Regions from separate parts of the Homo sapiens genome. Here region 2 is linked to region 1. The links are contacts of gene promoters, found by promoter capture Hi-C in human tissues and cell types (Jung and others, 2019). All regions are on one chromosome and are shown on one strand. The core of a region is centred on a gene start or on the middle of the fragment in contact, and the rest is flanking DNA. Distances in the headings are between cores, read along the strand shown. Region 1 holds the start of NUP133 (nucleoporin 133). Region 2 overlaps RAB4A (RAB4A, member RAS oncogene family).

Region 1 (4,267 bases), core at 579-3,078:
AATATAAAACATCAGCTTTTACCATATGTTGTGGTCAAATACATTTTATAAATATTGGCTTAGATGAGATTTAAGCTCATCTAGCTTTAGGTGCTTAAGAGTCCACCAGACCTGGCCGGAGCAGTGGCTCATGTCTATAATCTCAGCACTTTGGGAGGCCGAAGCGGGAAGACTGCTTGAGACCAGGAGTTCAAGACCAGCCTGGGGAACGTGGCAAGACCTTGTCTCTACAAAAAAAATTTTAAATTAGCCGGGCATTGTGGCACCAGCCTGTAGCCTGGGCGACAGAGAGTGAGACCCTGTCTCTTTAAAAAAAAAAAAAAAAAAACTATCAGATCTGTACAACCAAGCAAGAAATCGAACAGGTTACGAGCATCAGCTGTTACATGGTCCTCAACAGCAGATATCACAGTAAAAACTTTATTTCTTGCTCACCCTCTTAACATTTAGAATATTGTAAAGTCACCAGAATAAAAGGTAGTCTATGTCTTATCACGAGAATTAAATGAGAAGATGCACATACAGAAGGGCTAAGGGCTTTGTTTCCTGACAGAGGATAACAAAGGTTTTTCTTCAAATGATCACAAGAAGAGATTTAAATAAAACAACACACAGTAAATAAAGTATGCTTTTATTCTCCAACTTTTCGCAAAAGGAATAGAAAACACTGACAAGATCAGCACTTTGAAAAGAACTTTTCAAAATATGCCAAAAAAAGTCAAAGATACAGTGTATTCTTTCAAAACCACTTCTCCTTTAAAGTACTGAAAAATTTTACAGATAAATTTTAACCATAATTTCAAGACACAATACTTTGTGTTTCCTGCAGGGAAAAATTCATTTTTTATAGATGAATTCAGAGAAAACTATGCAGAAACACTAAAGTTTTAGGTTAATTATGAACATGGTGTGTGTTGGGGGTGGGGAGGGGTGTGTGTGTGTGATGATTTTACTGGTGCTCCAAACGAGCAGTTTTAGTAACTAAACTATCACAGTACTCTTAGCTCACTTATGTAAAGCCTTTTCCTTATAATTTACCTAGAAAGTTAAATTCCGTAGCTAGAAACCCTTTAATTACCAATCATCAGATATTAATGTCAGTTGGTATGTTAGGCATTAAACAATGATCTTTCAGGGTTGTAGGTCCTCATTATCACCATCACCTTACATCTGCATCGTGGCAATTCATAATAACTCCTCTGGCTCAGGTGAGATATATTATCGCCATTTCACAGATGAAGAAAATCACGAGTGACTTACACCAGATCACACGGGTAGTAGGTGGGAAGTAGGTAAACACTGATGCAAATCCAGTTTGTACTTCACTTCTGCACAAAGGTATCCATGAAAAATGCAAAGTGGGGAATCAACTGATCAACTGATAATCAAAACGAAGCAGATACTACCTGCAGCAGTGGAAAAGGTCTATTTTCCAATACTGTGGCATTCTATTCCGCCGCCCCGGTTCCAAAGGCTTCTAAAGACAACAACCTATCCGGCCCACTGCGGCCCGTGAGGCTGTTGGTTGCCAGACCCAACCAGGGAGATCACTTACCGCGAGCTTAGCGAGCTACGCCGGCCGACCGGCGAGAAGAGCACTGGGGAGCTGACTGCAGACCCCAGGGGCAGACCCTTCCTGCTAGCCGTCCGGGGCGTGGAGCCGGGCCCGAGTCCGGCCAGCGGGCCCCTTCGGGACCCGGTACCCGGGGTCCGCGGAGAAGGGGCGGCTGGGAACATGACTCCAAGGAGCAGCGACTAGGACAGCGAGGGATCTGGCCGTCAGGTTGCAGCCTGGCCTGCGCGCGGAACTTAAACACCTAAGGGAAGAGATGGCGCGCGATGATGACGTCAAACGCAATGGCTCCCGCGGGTTGTGGTCGGAGCGCTGGCGGGGGCGGGATCGTGACGTTAAGGGCGGTGCCCAGTCAGCGAGGTAGGTCGGGAAGGCAGCCGGCGGCCCCAGATCTAGAACCGCTGCAGTGCCGAGCTTCCAGGGACGTGAAGCCGGAAAGCCAGGCGCCCTTCTTGACTGCGCCTAGGTGGAACTGGCCCTCCAGCAGCTTGAACGTAGCCTCTTTTCACACTGGTAGTTCCTGAACCTCTTGTGAAATGAAAGATGTTCCTCATTCCAAGCTGAGGACGGAGAAAAGCCGTAAAGCTGACACTGGTATCGCACTGTGATATTTGTTGTTTTCTAGGTTTGCCATTTTCCCATTCAACTTTGCGCAGTCTCATCCACGCTGATGACGCCACAAATCCGTGTCTCTAACCTGGATCCAGCTCAAAACCCCCAGACCCCTATCATTCAGCTCCCTAGGGGACAATTTCAGCTGGAAGTCCTGCGAACTCCTCACAATCCACTTATGAAAAGCGCATTCATGTTTTCCTTTAGGACCCCTCTCCTACCACCATCTCTGTTCCAGCTTGGTAAAACTGGCCAGTTGTCCAAGGCAAAGAGAAGAGCTCTATCTGCAGTCATCCCTCACACCTACCTCCACCCTAAGATCATGGTATACGTTGTAAGGTCCTACGTGTCTGTACTAGATCACACATTTGCACTGCCTCTGCCCTGGTTCTGGTACTTACCTTTCCCTCAACCACTGCGTAGCCTCTTCTGCCAGCGGGAGGGAGTAGGGGAGATGGGGAGAGGGTTCCTTACCTGTGTCTAGTCTTCCTCCACTCTATCTTCTCACTGCCAACACAATGAATTAAGGCAAACGTAATGCTGCTCTTGGGCCTGTAAATGCTTCAGTGGCTGACCATTGCCAGTAGGTTATTTGCTAAGCTCCTTTGCAAGGTCCTATGTGATCTAAGTCAGGTTGGCTTTTCCGTCCGTGTTGTACTTCCAGCACTTCCCACTTGCACTCCACATTCCGAGAACTTAAAAACCCAAATCTCCCTCCAGTGCCCATGTCCATGTTTCTCTCACCTGGAATGCACTCCCTGCCTTGTTGGTCCAGAAGGCGCCTACCTTCCGCATCAAGTTAGTTCTGTGCTGCCTTCTCAGTGAAACCTTCCACAGGATTAGGTCCCCCTTATCCTTTGTCCTCTCTGCTCCTGTGTGTAGACTGTATTTTTATCCTGCATAATAGTTTGTTTTCATAATTGTCTGTCAAGTACTTCCTTTTAAATGTCTTGACAGCAAGAGCAGTGACTTTGTTACCTTTGTGGCACACAGTAACAGACACATAGTAGACTTTCATTCAACGTGTGTTGAAATAAGGGAATGGTTAAGTAAACATTGACGTATTCACATGTGGGAGACCACAGTGTGGGTGTCAGTTGTTGACATTCCCCTGGGAAGCCAGTCATCTATCTATGCACCAGTGGCATCTGAGCAGTCATCTTGCCAAGGTTACATAGGCTAGCTGCTTTACTCCTTCTCCCACCTGGGTGTCTAACCCAACTTGGCAGCTTGTTGAGTCTTATAGCTCTGAGAGCCCAGTGCATTTCCTCCCTGTTTCATTCTTACAAGGAGGGGTGTGAAATAGGCAATAGAGAGTATTAATAGTTGTGTCTGAGAGGATTGGTGGGATCAATTTTATTCTTGTGCTTTGTTGGACTGGTTAGTGGTTTCCCCAGCATCCTAATGTAAAAGCTGTTGTTTGCAGGAGCTAGAATGACTTGTCAGCCACCTTTGAGCAAGAACTTGCCTGGAGTCCAAATGTATGGCTATTGAAGGATAGTAAGCAGACAGCACTAAAAGTCATCCATTCGTTATGGATTTAGTGAGTACCTACCATGTGCCAGGCTATGTGATAATTGCTAAGGCTTATAACTAAACAAAGCCCATGGGTCCTACCCTCATGGAGATTACAGACCAATGAGAAAGACAGACACTGAAAAAATGAACACAAATATCCAGCTACAAGCTGAGATGTGTACTATGAAATAAAAGAGCAAAGTGTATGAGAGAGAATCACTGGGGCTACCTATTTTTGCATGGAGGTCTATAAAGGTCTCTGGGAGAAAAGGACGTTTAACCTGAGACATGAAGCATAAGAGAATAGGAGGAAGAATGTTTCAGGCAGAGGATCCTTGGCCAAAGGTCCTGAAGCAGCAAAGGACTTGGTGCATTCTAGGAACTTTATTTATTCTTATTTTACTTTATGATTTTTCTAGAGATTGGGTCTTACTCTGTTGCTCAGGCTGGAGTGCAGTGGCGTGATCAAAGCTCACCACATCCTTAACCTTCTGGGCTTCAGTGATCCTCCTGCCTCAGCCTCTGAGTTGGGACCATGGGCATGTACCACCACACCTGCCTATT
Region 2 (4,003 bases), core at 1,204-3,703, 210 kb before region 1:
AGAGAATGATTTTTTAAAACTTCAGACATTTTAAATAACTTTAATTTTTAGAACCAAAAACTAGAATCCTAATATCAATATTTGGACTCTAAGATTCCAAATTATATTGTAACTTGACTAGTTTCTTGCTAAGAAAATAAACATGAGAGAAATCCATATGCCATCATGACAGTTTTTAAAAAGCTGTTTAGAAATCAGAAGTTTAGAATGTTAACAAAGATGAAAAGGAATTTAGATGTCATCTAAACTCATTTTTACAAGTGAGGATACAAGAGGCTAGAGAGGCCATGGTTTGCTGAGAGAGCAAGCAGAACAGGCCTTTCTGCTGAGATGAACAGCCACTCTGGTGGGTAGAAAGAGTATTAATTCCTATACTGTCTCTTCATGGGCTGTATGACAGATTGCAATATAGTCCCCTAAAAAGTGTAAACACTTGTAGGTCATATTTGTGGTGACACTCAGATTGTTTGAAGAAGGACATTGCAACTTTCCCTGAAATCAATGGCAGGGCCATTTTGGCAAGCCAGCTCCTTTCTGATGGGCTGTCATTTGGCTGGGGAAGCCTGGTTGCTTGCTCAGCCCCTTCACCAGGTTAAGTGCTAGCACAAGATAGCAGTTACTTTTCAGAAAAGGCTAAAATTCTTTTAACATTTAAAAAACACATAATGACATATATTGATTTTATATTTACAGAAATATATGGTTTTAGGTCATAAATTATATTTCGTCTGCTTTTCTAAGAGAATGCTACACAGGCTTTTGTAAGTGAAAATTATGATCATCTTCTAAACATGACTTTATTTTGTTTGATGTCCATTTTAGAGCTGATGTTTTTGGAAACAAGTGCGCTCACAGGGGAGAATGTAGAAGAGGCTTTTGTACAGTGTGCAAGAAAAATACTTAACAAAATCGAATCAGGTAAAAGCCTTTCCATTAAGCAACTTTTCTTCTGCATATTTTACACTGTAGCTCAGTAGATCACCTTTTAATTAATAGTTTCAGGGTGATTTAGTAAAGAATGTTCTCTCTCTACCTGCCAACCTAAAATCATCACATATGGGTTCAAAGGTCCTGTTCTTATCAGGATGAAAGCCCCATCCTTATCAGGATGGTTTCCATGGTGATGAAAGTGGATGGGCACACCAGCTCAGCTGTGGAAAGGTAGTCAAGGTTTCAGGGAGTGTTTGCATTTAGAACCATAGTCTTTCTTTGGTCCTTCACTAAACGGAGGAAGAATAGGCCTTTGTCCACTCTGTCAACAGCACGCTAATTCTGTTGGGCCAGTGGTCATGTGTAAGGGAGTTATAGGTACATGGTATAGTGTTGATTGTTGCAGATCGGGCATCATGGAACTATGGAGTCCAGAGTAATTTTATTTCTGAAGCTTACTGAGCATGCCTCAATTATAAAATGCCTCATTTTTGTATTTGCTTATTAAAATAATTTAAAATAATCCTAATGTAGGCAGCTGACGAAATACTGTGTAGTTGTCATTTACTAAAGTAACTATATATGGGCATCACCTTTTAATTGATTCATTCAAACATCTGAGTGCCTATTTGTCAGATGCTGGGATACAAAAATGAATAAATCACACCCCTTGCCCCCCAAGAAACTGTCTTTCATGGGAGACAGTCAGAGGATAATTATAATATCACAAGGCTGATGTAGTAGCTGAGAGATGCACAGGCTCAGGGTAACGTGAAGAAGGGGACCTGCCCCAGCCAGAGGATAGAGGAGGTGTCAGGGAGGGCTTTCAGGGGAGGTCTTAGATGAGCTCAGTCTTTCAGAATATAAGGAAGAGTGAGCCAGCAAAGGGAGTGAGGAAGAGGGAATAGCAGGAGAAAAGGTTGAAGAAAGGCAGGAGCCAGCCAGTCCTCATCAAGGATCTAGAACTTTATCTTGTAGATTACCAATTGTCAACCCTGGATGAGCACTAGAGACACTGAGATGCATTAAAAGTTCTAATCCCAGGCTCTGCCTCTGGAGACGCTGAACTAATTGGGCTGAAGTATGGTCGAGGCACCAGTGTTTTTAAATGTTTACTCATGCTGTTCTAATGTTCATCCAAGATTGAGAACCACTGCTGTAGGTGGTGGGTTGTCAGCAGGTGGGTGATGTGATTGGGTTGTGACTTGAGATAAGTCATGTATGTAGGAGGTTATGTTGAAAACAAACTGAAGGGAGGACAGGCCTGGAGGCCAGGATACCAATTATAAGGCATTTTTGAGTAATCCTAGTAAGAGATGACTGATTAATGCTTTAACAAGGATATGGAAGCAGAGATGGAGAGAGAGATGGATCTAAGATATATTTAGGCAGTAGCATCTTATGACTCATATGCCCAATAGTGGGACAGGACAACTGACTCTTAGGTGGGACAAGGTGAGGAGGAAGGGCCAGCAGGGGAGGAGGAACCAAGGATGACTCGCAGCTGTCACACTGGTGTCTCTAGACAGAGATGGGGTGGAGCCAGAGGAGAAGCAGGGAATGTGAGGGAGTAAAGATGGCTCTGTTGCAAATGTGCGGCCTTTGCGGTAACGCTGAGACATGAACATGGAGTTATCTAGTAAGCTTGGGGAAGAGTTCCTGGCTGGCAGTATAAGTTTGGGAACCATCAATATATAGGAACAGCTAAAACTGTGGAAGCAATGTGATCGTCCGGAGAACAGTGTTTAAGGAGAGCAGTGATCAACAGAACCCTGGAGTTGGAGGATGAGCAGAGGAAGAGGAATCTACAAAAAAGATGAAAAAGGAAATGGTCGGAAATGTGTGAAGAAAATCAAGGGAATGTGGGTGTCACTTAAGCCCTAATTATAAGCAAATCAAAGGAGTGTTCATTATGTAATGTAATAGTAACAGAGGGAAGCCTCATAAGCTAAGACTGAGCTGAAAAACACACATTGGGATGGGGAATAGAAAGTCAGTGATCATTTTGATCAAGAACAATTTCAGCAGAATTATGAAGGTAGAAGATGGCTGGCCGTCCGTTAGGAAGAAGTAGGAGGTGAGCAAGCAGAGTGTCCACTCCTCTCCTGAGGAAGCACAGGCTGGCACTGTAGGGTGCAAAGGGTTAATTTAAAGCTGGGGTTGTGGGTGATGGGAGAAATTCCAGCATGTTTAAATGCTGAGGGGGAAGGAGAGAAGAATGGGCAAGGAGAGGGCAGGGAAGAAGGAGGGTGCTAGGTGAAGTAGGAGGGAGGAGAGTCGGGCCCAGGTAGAAGGGCTGGGTTTCAACAGAAGTGGACATGTCATCTTTTTGTATTTTTTTTTATCAGAAAGAAAAAAAAATTACTAAGCTTGGTACAAAAACCAAGACACTGTTACATAAATCCTTACAGTTGGCTTACTGTTGAGTATTATTAAGCTCAGCATGAGGTTGTATTTACATGACCTTGCTATTTTAATATTGTATCCCTGAATGCATCAGATAGAACAACTCATATGCAGTCTTCCAAGATGTGTTTTTTTCTGAGATCATCAAAATCATAAGTACCTCTAGGTGAAAAAAATATAAGAGTATAAATTAGGATTCTTCAGCAGTACTTTTTATTTTTTTAATGGGTAATACATTCAGAAACCATTGTTTTCTTCCCTTTTTTTATATAAAATGTATCATATGATAGACTACCACGCCTTGCTTTTTTACTTACTATTGTATAACCTACAAATCATTACAAATCAGCTTATAGTTTCCGTATATACATATAATACATAAGGTACATATATATAACATAATGTCATACATAATGTGTGTGTGTAATGTGTAATATGGGTTGAGTATCCCTAATCCAAAATGTTCCAAAATCTGAAACTTTTTAATTGCCAACATTGCCACTGAAAGGAAATGCTCATTGGAGCACTTCAAATTTCAGATTTTCAGATTAGGGATGCTGAACTGGTAAGTATAATGGAAATATTTCAAAATCTGAAAAAATCCAAAATACTTCTGGTTTCAAGTATTTTGGATAAGGACTGCTCAACCTATATTTGGATAAGGACC

What was found. The method cuts DNA at HindIII sites, captures the fragments that hold promoters and counts their contacts. A contact is called where the count stands out against the background at its distance.
Region 2: a contact is called between a fragment that was not itself captured here and the fragment with the promoter of NUP133 in region 1, in 1 of the 25 tissues and cell types used here (spleen).

The regions. Positions count from the first base shown.
Region 1 is chr1:229,506,513-229,510,779 of GRCh38, forward strand. It overlaps NUP133 (nucleoporin 133), which reads right to left and starts at 1,829. Exons shown (of 26, transcript NM_018230.3): 1 at 1,556-1,829. The coding sequence starts at 1,737. NUP133-DT (NUP133 divergent transcript) reads left to right here and starts at 1,918. Exons shown (of 3, transcript NR_110630.1): 1 at 1,918-2,167; 2 at 3,612-3,728. RefSeq lists silencers at 1,520-1,749, 2,690-2,984 and an enhancer at 1,800-1,919. The HindIII fragment of the contact is 14,911 bases long and covers 1-4,267 here.
Region 2 is chr1:229,298,155-229,302,157 of GRCh38, forward strand. RAB4A (RAB4A, member RAS oncogene family) reads left to right here. Exons shown (of 8, transcript NM_004578.4): 6 at 823-918. Among named protein-coding and RNA genes, the nearest start is that of RAB4A-AS1, 29 kb to the left of the region's middle. The HindIII fragment of the contact is 5,464 bases long and covers 1-4,003 here.